Regions from separate parts of the Homo sapiens genome. Here regions 2, 3 and 4 are each linked to region 1. Evidence: promoter capture Hi-C in 16 types of primary human blood cells and fetal thymus (Javierre and others, 2016). All regions are on one chromosome and are shown on one strand. Each heading gives the region's core, a stretch centred on a gene start or on the middle of the fragment in contact. The rest is flanking DNA. Distances are from core to core; before and after follow the strand shown. Region 1 holds the start of CEND1 (cell cycle exit and neuronal differentiation 1). Region 2 holds the start of LOC124902605. Region 3 has its middle 20 kb from the start of IFITM3. Region 4 has its middle 7.3 kb from the start of PKP3.

Evidence for each region. The method cuts DNA at HindIII sites, captures the fragments that hold promoters and counts their contacts. A CHiCAGO score of 5 or more calls a contact.
Region 2: a contact is called between a fragment that was not itself captured here and the fragment with the promoter of CEND1 in region 1, in 4 of 17 cell types (erythroblasts, naive CD4 T cells, endothelial precursors and 1 more). The highest score is 5.4, in erythroblasts.
Region 3: a contact is called between a fragment that was not itself captured here and the fragment with the promoter of CEND1 in region 1, in 1 of 17 cell types (naive B cells). The highest score is 5.3, in naive B cells.
Region 4: a contact is called between a fragment that was not itself captured here and the fragment with the promoter of CEND1 in region 1, in 5 of 17 cell types (total CD8 T cells, naive B cells, naive CD8 T cells and 2 more). The highest score is 6.5, in total CD8 T cells.

What each region holds. Positions count from the first base shown.
Region 1 is chr11:785,860-791,493 of GRCh38, reverse strand. CEND1 (cell cycle exit and neuronal differentiation 1) reads left to right here and starts at 1,404. Exons shown (of 2, transcript NM_016564.4): 1 at 1,404-1,464; 2 at 2,836-4,379. The coding sequence starts at 2,918. The coding sequence ends at 3,367. It overlaps SLC25A22 (solute carrier family 25 member 22), which reads left to right. Exons shown (of 10, transcript NM_001191061.2): 10 at 1-1,019. RefSeq lists a silencer at 1,264-1,493. The HindIII fragment of the contact is 25,064 bases long and covers 1-5,634 here.
Region 2 is chr11:1,048,041-1,053,918 of GRCh38, reverse strand. LOC124902605 reads right to left here and starts at 4,227. Exons shown (of 4, transcript XM_047427955.1): 1 at 4,145-4,227; 2 at 3,957-4,040; 3 at 2,076-2,296. LINC02688 (long intergenic non-protein coding RNA 2688) reads right to left here and starts at 4,039. Exons shown (of 4, transcript NR_160890.1): 1 at 3,957-4,039; 2 at 2,076-2,296. The HindIII fragment of the contact is 1,775 bases long and covers 775-2,549 here.
Region 3 is chr11:338,207-344,077 of GRCh38, reverse strand. No RefSeq gene overlaps it. Among named protein-coding and RNA genes, the nearest start is that of IFITM3, 20 kb to the right of the region's middle. The HindIII fragment of the contact is 759 bases long and covers 3,461-4,219 here.
Region 4 is chr11:384,284-389,569 of GRCh38, reverse strand. No RefSeq gene overlaps it. Among named protein-coding and RNA genes, the nearest start is that of PKP3, 7.3 kb to the left of the region's middle. The HindIII fragment of the contact is 255 bases long and covers 1,439-1,693 here.

The DNA.
Region 1 (5,634 bases), core at 155-2,654:
CTGCTGGACCCAAGCGGCTCTCCAGCCCTTCCGTCCTTCCCCAGCCGCTCTTGTCGCCTTGGCAGGACTTGACTCTGCCTCCCTGGCCAGCCTTGCAAGAGGACTGGGGTCTCCTGCCCTCTCTGTTGAGCCAGGAATCCCAAGTGAGGGGTTGCCCTGAGGTCTGACTCTTGGGGCAAGCCCGCCACCCACTGTGGGACTTTCTGGTGGGCTCCTCAGCTCCCACCCCAGGCTGGGGCCCAGATTGTGAGGTCTGTGTGCATGTGTGTGTGTATGTGTGTGTGCATGCGTGTGTGTGTTGTGGGGATCTGGCCTGGCCCTTGGGGATGGGGCTGCTGGGGACTGCCCCCCTTCCCGCCGTGGCCAGGCGCTCTGTGTGCTGTGTGTGCCCCAGGCTCTGTTGACCCCGTCCAGGAACTAACTTACCCAGCTTGGTCTCTCCTGAGTCCTCCACCCTGGCCTGGGATTGGCCAGGGAGCAGGGCGGGCATTGGGACCAGTGTGGAGCCTGAGGGTGCCTGCCCTGCTCTGGAGGGAGGGCCAGGAGCTGCCACACCCCCAAGTCCTCTCAGGGCCCACCCTCCTTTTTCAGCCTCTGCATAAGGCCCCTGGGTACACTGCAGAAGCCCCATCCTTCCCGCCTCCGGGCATAAGGCCCCTGACCACACTTCAGAAGCCCCATCCCCCCTGCCACCGGGCGATCCCTGCTGTGAGCCGAAGCTCTCCCTGCCCCGCCCTGGCCATGTGATCGTGTTGGTGACAGACCCTGATGTGCTGGTGCTGTGTCCCCAAAACCGGGGCCCTCCACAGAGGCCCCTTCCCAGCGACACTACCTGGGGCTCAGGCCTGGACCCCCCCAGTTCACGGTTGCTCCTGGGAGCTGCCCCTCCCGTCACATCAGAACCTTGGAAGCTGCTGCTGCTGCTTACAGAATTATATTTTTTTCTTTTGAAGAGTTTTAAGAAGTTGTAACTTTTTGTGTCTTGTCATGTCAGAGAATAAATAAATATTCTAAGTAGATGCTGCTGTCTGTCTGGGGGTCTGTTTGGGGGCGGGGGAGGGCAGTCCCCTCTTCCCATAACTGGCTCCCTTCAGACTGCAGGGCTAGGCCTGCGCACCCACCCACCGACCCCTCACCCACCGACCCGTCACCCACCGACCAAGGGGCACCCTGGCCTAGAGGGGATGCTGAGCGGGACCCGCCTCCTGCCTCTGGCAGTCCCAGATGGGACTTGGACCCCGCAGTTGCTCTCTCGGACCCTAAGTTTCTACCCCTGGATCTAAGGCGGAGCTGGGTTTGCGGATCCCACGGTTCCCGGCGGGGCGGGGCCCGGTCGCCCCTCCCCCTCCCCGCCCTCCTGCGCCGGGAGCAGTGCATTGTGGGAAACTCCCGAGCTCTCCTCCGCGTTCGCAGCCGCCGTCATCCCGCGGAGGAGCGCGCAGCCCCGGGGAGGCCGGAGGACGCGTAAGGCGGGGGGCTCCCGGCGGGCGGGGCGGGCGGGGCGGGCGCGGCGTCCTGCGGGGCGAGGAGGCGGCTCCGGGCCTTGAAGGTCACTGGGTTTGCGCGCGGGCCCCCCAGTTCTCCAGGGCTCAGTTGATCCCGGGAGAGGGAGGCGGCGGCCGGGATGTAAGTGCCACAAATAGCGAGGTTGGGGGGGCAGACCACCTGCTCTTTGCAAACTTGATGCCCAGCAGCTGAGCCCCCCGAGAACTGCAGGGGTGAAGGGACGGCTGGGCTTCCCTGGGAGGTGGCAGCAGCTGGGCCTCTTCTGGAGACGCCCTCATCATGCTGTGACCTTCGGGTGACCTTCAGTGTGGTCAATGCACCTGGCGGGGGGTGGGGAACGTGCCTCCCTTTCTCTGCAGGTCTGGAGGGCATTTCTCATCCTTCCCTGGGAGAGGCAGACAGGCGGCCTCTGGGGCTTTGGGGCAAGACCCACTCAGGTTCAGGGCGGCTGGGCCCCCAGGGCCCTTCCCACCTCTGCCTCGGTCATTGAGAATCTGGGCACCGCCTTTCCCACAGCCCAGAACCCTGTCCTCCGCCCTGACCCGCGGGCCAAGTGCAGCATGTGCCCACCCTGTTTAACGCCAGGAACCCTCTGCCCACAGAGACAGCACAGCCTTGGGCTGGGCGAGGACTCCCTGCTCCAGGGCTGGAGGCAGGCACGGCCCATGCTGAGGAGGGGGCCCCAGAGGCTGGGGAGGGGCAGACGGCCCTTGGAAGCACAGCCCCACGCTGACTTCCTGGAGAGACACCCCAGTTTTCTCAAGTCTGGGTTCTTGTGGGCCCACCCACCCTGATGGCTGCCTGAGATCCCAGCTCCTGCCCCTCCCCGCCCTCCTCCCCCTGGGACCCTGGCCAGGTCACAGCCTCCGTGCTTTAGTGTCCATCTCTGCAAAGCAGGAATGCTCTCCTGAGGAGGGGATGCAGTCAGCTCTCCCACTGGGGCTCCGATCACCTCCTTGGAGGGGAGAATGCTCTTCCTTCGAGTTCTCTGGGCCTGATCCTTACTTCCCCACCAAGAGCCTCCTGCCCCCGGCTGGTGGGAGGATGTGGCATTTGCATGGGCCATTTTATGGAGCACAGTGGGGTCCCCTACCTCCTCCCACCTGTGCGTGGCCCTTGCCTCTGCGGCTGGAGGGGCCCCTTGAGGAGTGGTCATGGACAGATGGAGTCCAGGCCGTGAAAGAGAAGTGTCAGAGGCCCACGGGAGGCCCCTGAGCTGGGGCTCCAGAGAGTCCAGAGAACTGGGCAGGGGCTGCCTGGGGACCAGGTGGTCGGGGCAGCACAGGGGGGACTGGACCCGCGCGCAGCCTCCCTTGTGTCTCCCTCCAGGCCCATAGAATGCCCAGGGGCGACAAACTGTCCTGAGCCCCTCTGGTGCAGCCACCTGCCTGTCCCATACGCCCCGCCCACCATGGAGTCCAGAGGGAAGTCAGCCAGCAGCCCCAAGCCCGACACCAAGGTGCCCCAGGTCACCACCGAGGCCAAGGTACCCCCGGCAGCCGATGGGAAAGCCCCCTTGACCAAGCCCTCGAAGAAGGAGGCCCCGGCCGAGAAGCAGCAGCCGCCAGCAGCCCCCACCACGGCACCTGCCAAGAAGACCTCGGCCAAGGCCGACCCTGCCCTTCTCAACAACCACAGCAACCTGAAGCCAGCCCCCACGGTCCCCAGCAGTCCCGATGCAACCCCGGAGCCCAAGGGTCCTGGGGACGGGGCGGAGGAAGATGAGGCTGCCAGTGGGGGGCCTGGGGGCCGAGGTCCCTGGTCCTGTGAGAACTTCAACCCCCTGCTGGTGGCTGGGGGTGTGGCCGTGGCAGCCATAGCCCTGATTCTCGGTGTGGCCTTCCTGGTCCGGAAAAAATAATACCTGGGGGCCAGGCGGGGGGCACGGAGCCACTTCCTGTACAGACCCGAGGAAGCCAGTGCATGCAGAGTTCACCCTTACCTATTCGTACACACGCACATTCATTACACACCTACATACGCCCCCAACACACGCGCACGGTGAAGAGGACGCCCGAGCCCACCCCTGCTGACCCAGGACTTCCCCAACCTCCAGGGCAGAAAGAGCCCAGGCTCCGGGGTCCACAGCACAGGATGTGGGGCGAGGGCACAGCTGGGGAACGGCAAGAAAGGAATGGACCCTGTGTGTGGCCCCCCCCACCCCTGGCGGCTGGGTGATCCTGGGCCCCCAGGGCTGGTCTGAGTGCAGGTGGGGGTGCCGGGATGGGTTGGGCCTGGGCCCGGCCCTCGTGGGGACATTAAAGGGCGCGGTGGCTCCACTCGCCCCATTTCTGCTCTTTGCGTACCCCCCGGGGGTCTGCCTGGGCGAATGCAGTGGGACGGACCTGGGGTGGGCACTCACCTCAGCAGAGCCTCAATGCCACCTCCCCACACCACCCAAGCCTAGCTGGGTGGGAAGACGGAGCCCTGAAGCCTGCGTGTGGAGGGGGTGCTGCCCAAGGGTCGCCTTCCCCAGCTTGTGCTCCAGGGGAGCCCCGACGCCGGCGGGGAGGCAGGGATGTCGAGGGCCCCTCACAGCTGTGCCCGCCCTGCCCCGCTAGACTGCCCCTCCAGCTTGCACCCAGCACCACCTGAGTCTAACCAGCGTATAATGCAATAACAGGTAGAGTAGAACTGCTTTTGGCGGCGACCGTCACACACTGTCCTCAGCCCACTGCACCTGGGGAAGCCCCTCGTGCAGCCCCTCCTTAGCACATCCAGTCCCAGCGTGGCCCTTGGCGCGCAGCAGCAGGCGAACTCCCAGAAGGTGGTGGTGGGCACTGTGAGAACGTGGCCTGCCCTCACTGGCCAGTGGCCACAGGAACCCCGGGCCTGAGTGGAGGCTGAGTCTGAAATAAACTCTGTCGTCTGAAGGCTGCTCTTGCATCCTCATCTGCATGTGGCTGGGAGACGCAGGGTCGCATGTGTCACGCCCACACCCCAGGCTTTCCAGGGAGGGATGCTGCATCCAGGACCCTCTGACGGGACCCCCTGTCACTCCTATGCCCTTATTCCAGGGGCCTCGGCCCGGATCGCCACCCAGGCCCTGCTCCATCCTCCTCCCTGGCCTTCCTGTGGGTCCTGACCCAAGATGGACACCCAGGGGCTACAGGACCAGGAAGCAGTGAGGACATGGGGTGCGGGGAGGGCAAGCCCTGCTTCTCAGGCTGAGCTCTCCAGCCAGGCAGGGGCCCTTCCGCAGCCCCCACTGCAGCGAGCCCCACATCCTGAGTGCAGAAGAGGCTCCCCTCAACACCTCTCATCCATGGACCCCAGCCCACTCTGACCAGGTGTCCAACCGGCGGGCCTGCTGGTGGGCCTGGCCACGGGTGGGGCTGCAGCATGCGGGCCAACAAGCAGCAAGGCCTGCGGTGCCTGGGAAGGGCTCCTTTGAGCTCTGTCTTCCTGGCTCTGGGTCTCACCCGACAGGTGGCTGAGGCCAGCAGACAAGAGCTCCCTGACCACCTCCTCCCCCAAGCCTTCTTCCAGCTGGTGTGGGGGGACAGCCATGTCTTCCTCCTGCCCTTCTGGCACCTGGCACACTCCCTCCCCAGAGCAGCAGTCCTCGTTCATGCACCCACACCCAGGCCCAGACAGATACGGAGGTCCCACGGGGTAGAACCAGCTAAAACCGACACTGTTGCTCCCACCCAGGCCGCCCTGCGACAGCCTCCCTCGACTCCCACTCATGCTGCTGCCTCCTAGAAGTCAAGGAGGCAGCCTATCCCTTGAGCCCGTTGATCTGAGCCCAGCGTACAGAGAAGGCTCTGTGCAGACACTGCTCACACCTCCAGCTCCCAGCTCACCTGCCCCACAGGTGCCAGGATACCTCTCTGACTGGCCAGCAGGGCCCCTCACCATCCTCAGCCTGCCTTCCAGTCGCCCATTCTCTCCATTCTGCGGCTCGTGCTTTAAAAGCAACCAGCCAACCCTTTCTGATATAGTAGGGGACTTGAAAGGGGCTAAGAAGACTGAAGATGGTCTGCCACCTTTAACCACAAGGCTTGGCGCTTTGGTGCTGATATTCCACCCACGATGCTGCCTCATTTTACTTAGCGATTCTCTATTAAACGATGCTTAGATTTTCCAAAACTTTTTCAACTTCAGACAAAGCAGGAATGAAAATCC
Region 2 (5,878 bases), core at 413-2,912, 260 kb before region 1:
GGGTCAGGACCCTGGGACCACGCTGGGTCTGACGCATTCAAGGGCACTTTGTCAGCCATCAAACGGGGCAAGACGCTCCACCTGGGTGACACAGAGCCGCACAGCCCTGCACCTGTACCTACACCTGGGGCCCCTCCTGTGCCCACAGGGCCTCCCCTGGTCAGCTGGGAGGGCTCTGCTAGCTGCCTCCTATCCCTAAGTGGACACAGTCCCTGGATCCTTCCCCCAGGGCTGGCCACACCCAGCTGACCACTCCCCCAACTCCCCTCTGGGCCCAGGCAGTCACCAAGGGGGTCAGCCGTCCTCAGTCCTCTCAGCCACGCAGGCCTGGGCCTCGGGTAGGGCTGCAGGACACACCTCCCCTACAGCTGGGCAGGTCCATGGTGTCCAGGCAGCCTGCCCTGGCCCGGCCCCAGGTGGTGCCTGGCATGCAGAGGACCGGAAGGCGGCAAGACCCCCGCTGCCAACGCCCCTCTCCGGCCCAGATAAGGTTCTGGGGAAGTCATTTCTTCCAGGCCCAGCTTCGGGAGGGTTGCAGTGTCCACACACATCTCCCCCTGCAGCTCAACCAGGCGCCACGGGAGGCACCCAAACAGCTGTGGGAACTGCAGGAAGGAGGGGAGGAGAGGGCGGGGAGTGGAGGAGGGAGGAGCTGCCCAGGCGTCCCCCGCGTAGGGGTGCAGGCTCCTGGGGATGCTGGGGACTCCAGGTCCTCACTGGCCCTTCCCGGCTGGCCCGCCTTTGCTCTGCATACAGCTGGCGCTCAGCAAAGCTTGCCGCTGCTGATGGACAATTCCATAGCTCACTCCAGCATATCTGTGCCCCAGGAGACGGTGCCCTCCTGGCCCCGGCCTGTGCCCTCTGTGGCCATTGAGGGCCCCGCCAGGCCTGCGGTCACAGGCGGGGCCAGTGCAGGGAGGAGGCCCTGACCACAGCAAAGGGGTCCGCAGCAGGGGAGGCACCAGCGTCCAAGTGCCCGTGCCCAGGGAGGTGCCACCTCTGACACGGACAGGGCTTCAGGCTTGGGACACAGGTGCCGGGGAAGCAGAAGGGAAAGGGAGGGGGCGGAACCCCGGCAGCAGGTCGGCTTGGTGACTGCACACCCCACGGGGGCAGTGGCTTACAGGGACCCACAGCCCAGGAGGGCCTCACCTTCGGCCCCTCCCAGCAGTAGCACCAACTGCCGTGGCCGCCCACACTACCCTCGTCCCGACGGCCACCCACACCAGGCCCTCCGTGGCCAGCACTCCTGTCATCCACATCCCCATCTTGCTGATAAGCGGGCGGTGAGGACACAGGAAACCCAGGCTGTCACCCGCCCAAGTCCGGAGCCAGGATGGGTCCCCCAGGTGGGAGAAGCCTGGTCTCACCCCCAGAGTGGCCCAGCCTGTCCCACAGCCAGGATCTAATGCCAGTCTCCCAAGGAGTGGGCACAGGGGGGTGTCTGGCCCCCCCTTATGGGGAGGGAACTCTCCATGGGGGGCCAGGAGCTGGGGAGCCTCAGGGGTCACAAGAAGCTGGTGGAGCCAGGGAGCCATGGCCACAGCGTGGGGGCAGGTGCCCCAGGAGGGGGAGGGGAGGGCATGGCCTTGGTTGCTACCAGCCCCCGCACTGGCATTCGGGCAGCATGGGGGCACATTTTGGGCCTGGGGGACTGTGCCATCGTGGCCAGGAGCACCTTGAGAAGCCAGGAGGGCTGGCCAGGGTGGGGCAGAGCAGAGCAGGGCAGGGACAATCTGCCCAGACGTCTCACCACCCCTCAGACACCCCCAGACTTGCCTGGGCCAGGATAAATACGCAGTCCTTGCCCCAAGGCCCAGAATTAGGTACGTGGGTACCTGCATGTCTGGCCGGGTCCCCTGCCTCTCTGTGCAGAATCCTGATGCCCCCTGGCAGGCCTAGGGGTTCAGCAGAAGCAGGTTGCAGCCCCCACACCCCTCTAATGGGCCACATAGAAGGTGGGCCAAGGGCAGTGGATGGGGGGCCTGGGACACAGCAGCTGGGACACTGCCCCAGGACCAGGGTCGGGTCCAGGAGTGGAGAACCCAGGGCAGTGACGGGGAGAGCAGACAGACCTGGGTTGAGATGGTGTCTGGGTGGGAGTCCAGGGGGCCGGGGGCCCAGCTTCCCAGGTGCCAGGGGAGCCCCCGCCCCTGAGTCCTTGGTGAGCTGAGTCTCCAGGGTGTGGTGCTCCCAGCATCCTAGCCAGGCCTTGTGGCTGCAGAGGGACAGAAACCAGGCCCAGCTTCCTGCTGGGGGGGTCACCTCTCCCCAGGGGTCCAGGACACCGCTGCATCTGAAAATGAGCAGGAAAGGGGTGCTCAGTGCAGCCTCAGGGCCTTGGGGACCCCCTTGGATCTTGCCAGCTCCCGAAATGCAGAGAGAGAGTCGGGCAGTGGGGCCAGGGCTACAGCCCCCATGTCTCCTCAACGTCTGCCTGGCTCTGTCTACCTCAGGGAACCAGGGCTCCTCATACCGGACCTGGCCTCTACCCGCCCAGGGCGCTTGGAGCAAAGACTGTGGTCCCAGGTTCCCCGACAGTGGAAGCTTCCCTGCCCAGCCCAAGCCGTCTGCAGCCAGACCAGAGGCTGGTGTGGCACCATGGAAGGTTCCGGAGGGCGAGAGCCGTGATGCTGTAGCCCGCCAGCAGGTGGCACCTGGCACCCGCACCACAGCCCGGAGGAGGGCTGGGCAAGGCGTGTGCTCAGGGCCGTGTGGCCCAGGTGTGTGCCTGCGTGTGCCTGCATGTTGGCAAGTCCGGTGCCCGGGTGGCTCTCAGGCATCTTGGGGAGAACAGTCAGCCCACAGCCGGGCCAGAGCCCTCTGGCCCCATTGATGGGAGGCTCTGGGACAGACAGCACTGAGAAGGGAGAGAAGCTGGGCAGGTGGGGCAGGTGGGGCCACCGGGCAGGCGTGAGGGTGACCCTGCCAAGTGGCACAGGGACGATCTGAGTCCTGCAGGGCCCGGCAGCGCCTGAATAATGGGAGAAGCTGTGTGAGCCGTGCACGGGCGGGACAGCAAGGCGGGCGGGCGTGGGTCCTGTACACACGGGTGTGGGTGTGGCTGAGCGACCACTCGCCCTCTCACATCCCCTGCAGTGAGCGTGGGGGCACTGGCCCCTCATTTCCCAGCCCCGCTGGGCCCACCTCCTGCCTGGCCCTCCCAGGGACTGACGTGTGGCCACCTACCCCTCGAACCGCAGGGGTTGCCTGTCCCCGCCTCTGTCCCTGCACCTCAGGCCCATCCCCGCCCTTGTCCCCGCACCTCGGGCCTGTCCCCGCCTTTGTCCCCGCAACTCAGACCTTTGGTGACACCTGTGGGCTCAGGCGCCACATGGGGCCCAGGACACTGGGGCCGCAGCACATCGGGGAGGGGAGGCTGCAGTCTGGGCCCAAGGGCATCCAGCCTCTCCACTCCCTCCCCGGTGACCTTGGGCAGGCTGCCCCCTCTCTGTGCCTGTTTCCTCATCTACGTGGGTACAGAACCCGTCTCCACCTGCAGTAAATCCAGTGATGGCGGGAGTGTCCCGCCAGCTGCACTCTAGGACCCGTTCGCTACAAGGATTGCACTGGGGGATGCCCTGTCCCCAGCTGGCCCGGCTCTGTCATGGCCTGGACCCTCCCTGCCTGGGCACGTCTGACCCAGAGAGAGGGAAGGCCACCAGGGCAACCCCAGAGGCCTGTCCAGCTCAGAGCCAGCCCCTCCTGCACCAGGGTCCCCTGAGATTCACCCTGACAGGCAGCAGGAAGGCAGGGTGCCTGGTGGCCTCCTTCCCCCAGGGATCTGGGGAGGGTCTGGGCTGGGCTCTTCTTTGACAGGCCGCCCGGGCCCCACCTCAGGCCTGGAGGAAAGTGGAGGGGTCCACACCGTGGCCGACCCTGGGACTGGAGACACATGGGCACCAGGACACGCGAGGCCCATGGGGGCCAGGGAAGTCCCCAGAATCCCCACTCACCACTCTGGGGTGGGAAGAGGCAGGGCCAGCCTGTCGACATGCATCTCCTGCTGTCCAGAGAATGCTCCCGACGTCCCCATTTTCCTACAGAAGAGGACATCCTTGCTGGGAAGCCGGTGGCTGCAGCCAGTCAATGGTGACTCCCAGAAGGTTCCAGGCCCCGCCCAGCCAGAACCCCAGAGCCAGACCTGGGGCCACAGGGCATGACGCAGCTCTGCCTATACAGGGACAGGCAGCTGCCCACGGCCATGGGCACAGGCTTTGAGGAAGCGACAAGGCTCTTGCACCAGCAGATTAAAATGCTGCCAAGCGGAAGAGTCTGTCAAAGCTCTCAAGGAGCAGCTGGTTCAGGGCCAGCAGGTGCTGGGGTGGTAGGGGGGCCCCTTGGCTGCTGTGACGGTGCCTGTCCCTGGCTCCCAGCCCGGGAGCCCCAGCAGTGCCTTGTACAGCCGGCCCAGACATGCAAAGGGCCAGAGCCCGGCACGCGGCAGTGTTGACTGTCATCATTGTTATTGCCATCATCATCATCATCATCATCATTGCTATTATTATATTATCATCAGGAAACTCACCTACATTCTGCAGGCTGTGGGTGAGGCCAAGGAGCAGAGGGCTGGGGGTTGATGTGGGCCGGCAAGGTCCAGGCCAGGAGGGTTCATCCCAGGGATGCCAAGACCCAGCAGAAGGTTAGCAGGGGAGGAGAGACCCTTACCCCAGGGTGACCCCACGGCGGGGGCTGCATGTGGGCACCAACTGGAGGCCTGCGGGAGGCAGGTGTGGCTCGGAGGCTCTTTGGCAAGGTGGGAGCCGGGGGTCCCTTAAGAAGTCCACCTTAAGAGGTCCTCCAGAGTGACCCAGGGAGAACCATTCTCCAACCCACCCACTCCTGGATCTCAGGCTCCCAGGACGCAGAGAGACTCTGAGCCATCTCCCGGGTTGTGCTGCTTGGTTATGGTGGCCCCAGGAAAGCGAATCAAGAGTTGCAGCAATGCTGCCCAGCCCCACGAGCAGGGAAACCAGAGCCAGGAGGTGGCGATAGGGACTGCGGGTGGGTGGACCGCGGGGCTGGGGTGTGTTCTCTTCCTGCTACTCTTCTACATTTTTCCAGGTTTTATTTAGTGACTATGTTCCACTCTGTATTAAAGTATCAAGATTCCATTTCATCAAGGACTAGCATTTTTAGCAAAGAGAGTAGCAGAGGCCAGGATTTAGCAACTAAAAAACTCCAGGAAATATGGGAAACAACATCTGTCAAGACGGTGGACATCAGGCGACGAAGAGAGTGGTCCCAGAGAGACAGCGGGTCCCTCCAACCTGGCTGCTATCCGGAAACGCCATGGCCTGAGCGGCATAAAAGCAACAGACACGCATCTCCACGGCTGCAGAGGACGGGACGTTCAAGATCCACACTCTGGCAGATTCGATGTCTGGTGAGGCCACTCCCTGGTTCACGGACGGCACCTTCCCACTGGGTCCCCTTCGCCTCTGGTAGAAGGGGTGGGAGAGCTCTCTGAGGTCTCTTTTTTTTTTTTTTCGAGACAGGGTCTCACTCTGTCACCCAGGCTGGAGTGCAGTAGCACAATCTCGGTTCACTGCAAGCTCACTTCCCAGGTTCGAGTGATTCTCCGCCTCAGCCTCCCGAGTAGCCGAGATTACAGGCGCCCACCACCATGCCCAGCTAATTTTCATATTTTTAGTAGAGACAGGGTTTCTCCATGCTGGCCAGGCTCATCTCGAACTCCTGAACTCAGGTGATCCACCTGCCTCGGCCTCCCAAAGTGCTGGGATTACAGGCGTGAGCCACCGCGCCCGGCTCTGGGATCTCTCCTGTAAGGACACTAACCCCATTCTTGAGGGCTCTGCCACCTCCCCAAGTCCCCACCTCCTAATATCGTCACCTTGGGCACCAGGATTTCAACACA
Region 3 (5,871 bases), core at 2,591-5,090, 450 kb after region 1:
TGGCTCACTGCAAGCCCTGCCTCCCGGGTTCACGCCATTCTCGTGCCTCAGCCTCCCGAGTAGCTGGGACTACAGGCGCCTGCCACCACGCCCAGCTAATTTTTTTGTATTTTTAGTAGAGACAGGGTTTCACTGTGTTAGCCAGGATGTTCTCGATCTCCTGACCTGGTGATCTGCCCGTCTTGGCCTCCCAAAGTGCTGGGATTACAGGCGTCAGCCACCGTGCCTGGCCTAATTTTTCTACTTCATGCAAGTTCCACAACTTTCATCCTAAGATCTCCAACTTTATTTGAGCATTAAAGAAAAAAAAAAATTCCAGGGCCAAGCACAGTGGCTCATGCCTGTAATCCCAGCACTTTGGGAGGCTGAGGTGGGCAGATCACGAGGTCAGGAGTTCAAGACCAGCCTGGCCAAGATGGTGAAACCCTGTCTCTACTAAAACTACAAAAATTAGCCAGGTGTGGTGGCAGGTGCCTGTAATCCCAGCTGCTCGGGAGGCTGAAGCAGGAGAATCGCTTGAACTCGGGGGGCGGAGGTTGCAGTGAGCCGAGATCGTGCCATTGCACTCCAGCCTGGGCGACAGAGTGATACTCAGTCTCAAAAAAAAAAAAAAAAATCCAGACTAGATCTAGCGTCAAACTGGATCTATCAGAAACTGAACTGGGCCTAGTAGGCATCTTCACATAGGTAAGGGTTTGGGAAGACAGAATAATGAGTTTATCTGAATCCACAGAGTCTGAGATTCCTCCACCTGAGAACCAGTACTTGTCTAGAGAAACTGGTGAACTTTACCAAAGACACCTTAGAATTAAGTGGTGGCCGCAGTGGGTAAGTGATGACCTAGACAAAGCTGTTCATCTGTGGTATCCACTGCAAAAGATGGGATCCAAAGCAACTAAGAGAAAATGGAATGCATTTTTTAATTCACATGTTGTTTTTGACACAGAGTCTCACTCTGTCACCCAGGCTGGAGTGCAGTAGTGTGATCTCGGCTCACTGCAACCTCCACCTCCTGGGTTCAAGTGATTCTCCTGCCTCAGCCTCCTGAGTAGCTGGGACTACAGGCATGCACCACCAAGCCCAGCTAATTTTTTGTATTTTTAGTAGAGATGGGTTTTCGCCATGTTGCCGGGCTGGTCTCGAACTCCTGAGCTCAAGTGATCCATCTGCCTCAGCCTCCCAAAGTGCTGGGATTACAGGCGAGAACCTCCATGCCCAGATGATTTTTTGATTGGCATGCACAGGCTGCTAAAAGACTAAATGAATCCCAAGTTGTCTCTCTAAAAGACTCCATAGAAAAAGGCAAATAGAAAACCAAAGCAGTTAATTGACAATGAAAAAGGGCATGTCTACTGACTCAGCACAGATGAGCCCTTCTCTCTTTCTCTCCATCTTGCTCTGCCAGATTGCTCTGAACTACTCACTTTTTTGCTCAGTAACTTTTATACCCCAGAGGCAAAAAGAAAGTTAGCCAAACTTTCATCGTGTTAGGCCTTTAGATCAACCAGGCCTTCCTTCTTTAACCACATTGACATCTTGATTAAAATCTGAGCTCAGAACAATAGTGAAAGGTTTCCCTGTCCCAGAAATTTGCTGATGATGTAGAATTATATCCTGGCCTATTCATGCTAACTCCAGGCATGGAAAATGCTTGCCAGTTCATCAGTAGGCGCCACCCTGAACTCAGTGATGGAGTTAAAAAGCATAAACTGGGCTGAGAAGCCTCTGATCTAGCCAACGTAGGCCCCAAATGTGCTACTCTGGCATAAAGATTATTTTGATCCAATTCTTTTGAGACCCTTTGTAAGAAAAATTTAATTCTATAAAGGAGATAGAAGTGGTGGCTCATGCCTATAATGCCAGCACTTTGGGAGGCTGAGGGAGGAGGGTTGCTTGAGCCCAGGAGTTCAAGACCAGCCTGGGTGACATAGTAAGAGTCGGTGTATTAGTCCCTTCTCTCATTGCTGTAAAGAACTATCTGAGTCTGGGTAATTTATACAGAAAAGAGGTTTAGGCTGGGTGTGGTGGCTCATGCCTTAATCACAGCACTTTGGGAGGCTGAGGCAGGTTGAGGTCAGGAGTTTGAGACCAGCCTGGCCAACATGGTGAAACCCCATCTCTACTAAAAATACAAAAATTAGCCAGGTATGGTGGCGTGCACCTGTAATCCCAGCTACTCAGCTGGCTAAGGCAGGACAATTGCTTCAGTCTGGGAGGTGGACGTTGTAGTGAGCTGAGATCGCGCCACTGCACTCCAGCCTGGGTGACACAGCAAGACTGTGTCTCAAAAAAAAAAAAGGCAAAAGAAAAGAGGACACATGGCTGGGGAGGCCTCAGGAAAGTTACAATCATGGCAGAAGGTGAAGAGGAAGGGGGCACGTCTTGCATGGCTGGAGCAGGAGGAAGAGACAGAAGGGGGAGGTGCCACACACTTTTAAACAACCAGATCTCATGAGAACTCACTATCCTGAGAACAGCAAGGGGTAAGTCTGCCCCCATGATCCAATCACCTCCCACCAGGCTCCTCCTCCAACACTGAGGATTACAATTTGACATGAGATTTGGGTGGGGACACAAATCCAAACCCTCTCACCCCATCTTTACAAAGAAATTTAACCAACAGTTTGAGGTTGCAGTGAGCTATGATCGCACCACTGCACTCCAGCCGGGTTGTAAAATAAGACTCTGTCTCAAAACAAAACAAAACAAAACAAAGTAAACAACAAAAAAAAAGAATGGAGAAAGCATTGATTTAAATCTACATCACAAAACTTACCTTTACTTAGCGTGCATTTCTGACCCCCATCTTGGCTTAATTAGCGCTTTGCTTGCTTTCTCTCTCTTTTTTCTTTTCTTTTCTTTCCTTTCCTTTTCCTTCCTTCCTTTCTTTCTCATTCCTTCCTTCTTCCCTTCCCTTTCCTTCCTTTCTTCCTTCCCTCCTTCCTCCTCTTTCCTTTTCCTTCCTTCCTTTTCTTTTTCTTTCTTTCTTTTTTCTTTCTTTCCTTCCTTCCTTCTTTCCTTGTTCTTGCTTTTTTCTTTCTTCTTTCCTTCCCTTCCCTTCCCTTCCCTCCCTTCCTTCCTTCTTTCTTTCCTTGTTCTTGCTTGCTTGCTTTTTTCTTTCTTTCCTTTCCTTCCCTTCCCTTCCCATCCCTTCCCCTTCCTTCCTTCCTTCCTTCTTTCTCCTTCTCTTTTTTTCTCTTCCTTTCTTTCTTTTCTCTTTCTCTTTCTTTTTTTCATTTCTTTCTTTTTTTCTCTTCTTCAAATGAAGATATTTAAGGCTGAAGTCTAAGTTCTGTGCCTTTGAGATGTAAATTTTCTACTCTGCTCAAACACCTGAGGGTTATCTCTTTGATATGCAAATTTTGGGAAGCCATCTTATGAGAAAAGAAAAAAAAAGAGCTATATGGAAATTGGGCAAATGAAAAACCTTAAGTCTTTCCCGCAAATATTAATAAAAGCTTTAATCATCTGGCAAGTAATTTTGACTTGTTCCATGTGCCAGAAACAAGATTTGAAGCCTATTGTTCTTGTATTAAACAGTGTGTTTTGTATTACTGTGCTTGGCATGTGGCTAAGATTTTAGAATGAAGCTGTAACACTCTAGTGTCTGAAGAGTGTGAAAAAAAAAAAGAAAGCTATATGATCTGCTTCTGTCTGTATGTTTATGTATGTCTATGTATACATGTACACGTGACATTTTCCTACTCTAGATTGCGTTGCCAAAATTAATTTATAAAAAAGTGGTATTTAATTGGCTTAAAGAAAAATATGAGCTTATATAAGTTGAGTTATCCTTAAACTCTTAGAAATATAGAAACTAACCCAAATGTTTTTTAAATTTCATGTCATCTGAGATTATAGTTGGTAAATAAATGCTATTTAAACTTTTCTGGTTTAATGAAATATTTAGAGTTGTCAGCATTAAATAAAACGCAGACACACAACTTTGGTTTTACCTAGGTTTATTAGGCAAAAACTTATGTTATCTCTGTTACAAGAGTTGCCACCAAGAAAAGCAATTTGATGATGTCTAGCCTTGTCTGCTGTTATGAAACATCTACTTAAAAGCAGCTTGCCGATTCTCTTTGGTAGCTTGCACTGTTAGAGTCAAGTTAAATTAAATGATGGTTATTCATCGACTATCTAGAAAGATATTTTTTAAACCTTATTTTTTTTGAATAACATAAAATACTGAAACTTTGATTGCTAAACATAAGCTTGTCTACTTTTGGCTTCTTATTATAGAAGTACTAAACATACTTGTCTCTGCCAGCAAACACATCCTGTGCCATATTGAAAAATTGTATGATAAAGAAACACACACTTCTAGAAATTATGACATGGTATATTCACAGATTTGCCAATCTGCAGAATGTTGGTATGTATGCAAAAAGTTGACAAGTGTTTACTTGCTAGTTTTCACTAGAAACCAAGGTTAATAGCTGGTGTGGTGGCTCATGCTTGTAATCCCAACACTTTGGGAGGCTGAGGTGGGAGGATCACTTGAGCCAAGAGTTCCAGACCAGCCCATCTCTACCAAAAATAAAAATTAGCTGGGCTGGGTGTGGTAGCTCACGCCTGTAATCATAGCACTTTGGGAGGCTGAGGTGGGTGGATCACGAGGTCAAGAGATTGAGACCATCCTGGCCAACATGGTGAAACCCCATCTCTACTAAAAATACAAAAATTAGCTGAGCATGGTGGTGGACACCTGTAGTCCCAGCTACTCGGGAGGCTGAGGCAGGGGAATCACTTGAACCCGGGAGGCGGAGGTTGCAGTGAGCCAAGATCGCGCCACTGCACTCCAGCCTGGGTGACAGAGTGAGACTCCTCTCAAAAAAAAAAAAAAAAAAAAAAAGCTGGGCATGGTGGCACATGCCTGTGGTCCCAGCAACTTGGGAGACTAAGGTGGGAAGATCACTTGAGCTTGGGAGGTTGAGGCTGCAGTGAGCTGTGATAGCACCACTGCACTCCAGTCTGGGCAACAGAAGAAGGCCCTGACTCAAAAAAAAAAAAAAAAAAAAAAAAGATAAGAAAAGCTTTTAAAGTTACTAAGTGTTTAGAATTCTAATTATATGGTAATTAAAATTACGAGAAATAATAAGGGAAGCAGCTCTGTATGCAGAATATACAAACAAAGGAAGGCGAATTTTGGGTAAGGAAAGTTATAAGAGGCTGGTTGTGGTGGCTCAAGCCTGTCATCCCAGCACTTTGGGAGGCTGAGGGGGGCGGATCACCTGAGGTCAGGAGTTCGAGACCAGCCTGGCCAACATGGTGAAAGCCCATCCCTACTACAAATACAAAAATTAGCCGAATGTGGTGGTGCACGCCTGTAATCCCAGCTACTTGGGAGGCTGAGGGGGAAGAATTGCTTGAACCCGGGAGGTGGAAGTTGCAGTGAGCAGAGATTGCAAGACTCAGTCTCAAAAAACAAAAAAAAATTATAAGGTATGAAGGTGTGCTTTTTTTTTTTTTTTTGAGACAGAGTCTTGCTCTGTCGCCCAGGCTGGAGTGCAGTGGCACAATCTCTGCTCACTGCAAGCTCTAAGTCCAATTAAACTCTTTCTTTTGTAAATTGCTCAGTCTTTATTGGCAGCATGAAAATGGACTAATACAGTATTGCAGGAAAAGTCTGATGGAATGGCATGGCTTTCTAGGCTCAAGAGGTTTTCAAAGTCAAATCTGAAATTCTGTATTAAAAGTTCTAGTCGGGAGCAGTGGCTGACGCCTGTAATCCCAGCACTTTGGGAGGCCGAGACGGGCGGATCATCTGAGGTCAGGAGTTTGAGAACAGACTGGCCAACATGGCAAAACCCCGTCTCTACTAAAAATCCAAAAAAATTAGCCGGGCATGGTAGGTCATGCCTGTAG
Region 4 (5,286 bases), core at 317-2,816, 400 kb after region 1:
CTCCTTTCCTTGGAGAGGTCGGGGAACACTCTGCTCCACCAGCTTCTTGTGGGAGGCTGGATATTCTCCAGGCCTGGCCCGCAGTCATCCGGAGGCCTAACCCCCTCCCTGTGGTGCTTGAATGATCACACTCCTTGTCCACTTTCATGCTCCTCCCGTACTCCTGGTTCCTCTTTGAAGTTCGTAGTAGATAGCGGTAGAAGAAATAGTGAAAGTCTTAAAGTCTTTGATCGTTCTTATAACTGCATAGAAGACAACACTGATGTATGCTGCCTTTCCTCTCTACTTCGGCTACCTAAGAGGGAAGGGTCACCGTAAGGTGACTTGCTTCACCTTATCACTTAGAAGATTCACCCTCCTTATCCTGCCCCCTTGTCTTGTATGCAATAAATATCAGCGCGCCCAGCCGTTCAGGGCACTACTGGTCTCCGCGTCTTGATGGTAGTGGTCCCCCAGGCCCAGCTGCTTTCTCTTTATCTCTTTGTCTTGTGCCTTTATTTATTACAATCTCTGGTCTCCGCACATGGGGAGAACACCCACTAAGCCCCGTAGGGCTGGACCCTACAGTCCCCAAGGCAAACTGGACAGGGTCAAGGTGGCCTCCCTGCACTGTCTGGAAAGCCCCTCCTGAAGGACCCTCCTCCCTGCACTGTCTGGAAAGCCCCTCCTGAAGGACCCTCCTCCCAGGACTGTCTGGAAAGCCTCCTGAAGGACCCTCCTCCCTGCACTGTGTGGAAACCCTCCTGAAGGACCCTCCTCCCTGCACTGTGTGGAAACCCTCCTGAAGGACCCTCCTCCCTGCACTGTGTGGAAACCCTCATGAAGGACCCTCCTCCCTGCACTGTCTGGAAACCCTCCTGTGGGGCCCTAGCCCAACACATTTGCAGCAGTCACAGGTGTATCTAGGGATCCTGGGGTCCATGAGCCCACAGGGCAGCTGTTAAGAGCCTTTGCCTTCTTCCTATATCTCCTCTCTCTTTTCTGGACTTCCTCCCGGTTCCCACTGGAAAAAACTGAGGTGGCCCCTCCCAGGATGCCCCCAAAGTACCATCTGGTCCCACAGCCCATTCCCGCATCCTCCTTCTGACATCAGGGGCCGCCTGTGCAATGAACTCATCTCCTCATCCCCTAGGACCAGCCGTTCATTGACTGAGTCAGGAGACAGAGAGGCACACTTCACCAAGGCCCCTGCCATCCCCCAGGAAGGCAGTGGGGCCAATCCCTGCTCTACCATGGACAGCCTGGTGCAATCAAGAGGCCCAGCCCCTTTCTCTCATAAGCCCTCCAGCCAAGTGCAATGAGAAGCCCAGTCCCATTCCCTCACAAGCCCTCCAGTATCACATCTGAAAGTGTTTCATCCTCCATTCTCCCATTTTATCACTGGGGTCCCATTTAGGGTCCTCCAATGGTACTGCTATTCATCCAATTGGATAAAGCTTCTCTTCTTCCCTGGCCCTATATAAGATATACAGCTCATCCCCCAAATTCTCTGCCGCTTGCGGGGTGGCCTGCTTTTCAGCAGTCAGGGTTTGATTCAGAAGTAACATGATATCCTTCCAGGAGAGCTCAAATACTTGGGTTAAGTTCTGGAAAGCCTCCATGTATCTGTCAGGGCCATCTGAAAACTTGCCAAGATCCCCCTTAATTTGACTCAGAATGGCCTAAAATGAGGATTTCTAGGCTGGGGAAAGCTTGAGAGAGAACCTGAGTAGGGAGGAGTGAAGGGTTTGATTCCTCCACTGGAGGTGCCTCTGGGGTTTGCTTCTCTATTTCCCTGGGATTGCCTCTTGCAGCCTCTCCTGAGATGGCCACCAGGAGGGCTGGATCAATCCTACAGTAGAGGCAAAGGTCCAAGTTACCCTGCAAGGCAAAGAAAGCCTGCACACACGAGGCCTGGGATCACTGGCCCTCACATTTACAGAAAAGCTTCCTCCCAAGACCATGCTTCCCTTCTGTGTCTTACACTTACAGAAAAGCTTCCTTCCTGAGACCATGCTTCTCTTCTGGGTCTCACGTTTACAGAAAAGCTTCCTTCCTGAGACCATGCTTCTTTTCTGGGTCTCAAGGTGCTTGGCACCAAGTTGGCGGCCAAGGAAATAACAAGAACATTTTTGCCACAAATTTACATACAGATACCAAGGCACACTTTACTTCGTCTGTGCTATTCTTAACCTTCCATTTTATAGTTTTGATGACTCAGTCAAATGCTCATTCTACCCAGTAATATTTCTGGTTTGCAACAACATCCTTAACATTTAACATTGTACATAAAGAAGAGATAGGAACCATGACAGCCACAAAAGAAAGACAGAAAAGAATGATAGGAAAGAGTGGAGGTCTTTGTGCCAACACCCTCATGGGAGGCTGGGGACTGGAGTCAGTCCAGGGGCCTTTGGATAACTCCAAGGGGTAACCTCAGCCAAATACCCCCAGTTGCTCTAGGACCTCCTTCTGGTCCCACGTGACAGCTAGACCTCCATGAAGGAAAACTGGGTTGGAACAAAGCCAACATTCCCAATACCTGAGGGTGATGGGGGCTTGACAGTGTCCTCCCCAGCAAGCCTGGCCTCCATGTGTTGAGTCTGGTGCTTGGAGACTAGTCGTCACTTTTAACTAATTGACAGAGGCCTGGTATTTTTCTTTCATTTTAGCTGTTGAGTTTAAGGACCACGAAGAAAGGACAGAAAGAGAAGATCCACTTTTACTTACCCTTGTGCAGATCCCAGACGAGCCCCCAAACATGTTGTGGGATATTTGGGGTGTTGCTTTTCTGGCCAGAAACCTCTGTGGCCAGGAGCACCTTTGCCTGAGTTCTTGTCCTGTGTCCAGGAAGAATGAGGTACACAGACAAGTGGAGGGTGAGCAAGACGAAGAGGAGCTTTATTAAGTGTCAGAACGGCTCAGAGGCTCTCAGCAGAGAGGAGGCTGGGAGTGAGTGGCTCCTCTCTGCAGGAAGGTCGTCCCAACGAGTGTTCAGCTCTCAGCAGAGAGGGCAGCTCCTCTCTGCAGTTGGTCGACCCAATGCCTGCAGCTATCAGCAGAGAGGGTAACTCCTCTCTGCAGTTGGTTGACCCAAGGCCTGCAATGCTCAGCAAAGAGGAGGCCCTAGTGAGGGTAGCTCCTTTCTGCAGCTGGTCATCCCGTCGTCTCTCTGTCCTCTTCTCCACTCTGGCTGAACCCAGGGCTTTTATGGGCCTCAGAGGGGAGGAAATTCATGCCAACTGGTGCATGGGCAGCCATGGGTGGGCCCGGAAAAGGCACCACAAGTCCCCACTGTGGTCCTCAGGACTGTCAGCCTGGCCCCCAGCCTTCAGGCCCACCCTGGCTTGAAGGTGGAGCCTCACCAGGGACCTGCCCATTCCCTCCCAGGAGCCTGTCTGCCTCCCACTGCCGCCCATGGTGCCCAGGCCGCTCGTGCCAAGGGGTGCCCACAGGCCAGCACTGAGCTGCCCCCAGCTCCATCTTGGCCTCCCTCCCACACTCATTGGTGCCCAAAGTCTGGAGGGGCTGAGGTGGCAGGGGACTGGCATCTCGGCACTGCTCTGAGGGTGCACACCCGGCTGGGCTGCAACAACACCCGGGCTTGGCCCCGACCCCACTCCAAGATCAGAGTGGGCGCCAGGAGCAGGGACACCCCCAAGCCTGTGGTGTTAGGGGGTCCTCCCTGGCCCCCAAGACCACCAGGAGGCCTGGGTCCACACAGCAGCAACCTGGCTGGCTGCAGCTGCCCCCGTGGTGCTCCCGCCCTGCCAACCCTGCACAAATAAACCCACTGCTCCCAGGGCTGGTTCCACGAGACCCGGCTGTGCCTTCAGCTGGGTGCTCACGGGCTCCCGGGACACGGCAGGAAGCGAGGTTGAGGTGGCTGTGGGGGTTCCAGGCCTGGGAGTGGGTCTTGCCCGGCTGTGGGGGTTCCAGGCCTGGGAGTGGGTCTTGCCCGGCTGTGGGGGTTCCAGGCCTGGGAGTGGGTCTTGCCCGGCTGTGGGGGTTCCAGGCCTGGGAGTGGGTCTTGCCCGGCTGTGGGGGTTCCAGGCCTGGGAGTGGGTCTTGCCCGGCTGTGGGGGTTCCAGGCCTGGGAGTGGGTCTTGCCCGGCTGTGGGGGTTCCAGGCCTGGGAGTGGGTCTTGCCCGGCTGTGGGGGTTCCAGGCCTGGGAGTGGGTCTTGCCCGGCTGTGGGGGTTCCAGGCCTGGGAGTGGGTCTTGCCCGGCTGTGGGGGTTCCAGGCCTGGGAGTGGGTCTTGCCCGGCTGTGGGGGTTCCAGGCCTGGGAGTGGGTCTTGCCCGGCTGTGGGGGTTCCAGGCCTGGGAGTGGGTCTTGCCCGGCTGTGGGGGTTCCAGGCCTGGGAGTGGGTCTTGCCCGGCTGTGGGGGTTCCAGGCCTGGGAGTGGGTCTTGCCCGGCTGTGGGGGTTCCAGGCCTGGGAGTGGGTCTTGCCCGGCTGTGGGGGTTCCAGGCCTGGGAGTGGGTCTTGCCCGGCTGTGGGGGTTCCAGGCCTGGGAGTGGGTCTTGCCCGGCTGTGGGGGTTCCAGGCCTGGGAGTGGGTCTTGCCCGGCTGTGGGGGTTCCAGGCCTGGGAGTGGGTCTTGCCCGGCTGTGGGGGTTCCAGGCCTGGGAGTGGGTCTTGCCCGGCTGTGGGGGTTCCAGGCCTGGGAGTGGGTCTTGCCCAGCTGTGTGAGGGTGGGGGTGGCACCGTCGGCAGCCTTGGGGACATGGGGCACTGGGGACCTGCTGCCGCCACTGCTGCTCCTGCAGTCATCCTGCTCCCCTGTCCGCCTCCTTGCAGCCTGGGGTGAAGACTTTCGGCCCTCACAGAGCCCGGGTCGGCATCCGGGGCAGAGGGAGGCGATGTCACCACAAGATCCCCCTGCAGTTCCAACACTCAGGGGCAGCCTGGGGCCGCCCCTCACCCGACTCGCAACCATGCTGGGAGACACCTCTGGGAGCGGACTGTGGGCCCCGGTTCCAGCTACTGGAAGCACCAGGCTCCGCAGGGGCAGCAGGAGCAGGTACTTCTGAGCCTACAGGGGGCCGGGTGGGGGCCTTCCTGGGCCCCCAAGAGCACAGGAATATTGAGGTGCACGCAAACGAACCCAGTGCCCAGGAGGGCCGAGCTCCTGCCTGCTCTGTGGAGTGGGAGGCCCTGCCATGCCTCTCCGCTGCGGCCAGCATCTTGGCAGTGTCCACTCTAGATGGGCCACCGCTGCCATCACTCCTGCCTCAGCCTCCCGAAGTGCTGAGATTACAGGTGTGAGCCACTATGCCCAGCCTTATCATTGATTTTTAAGAAATT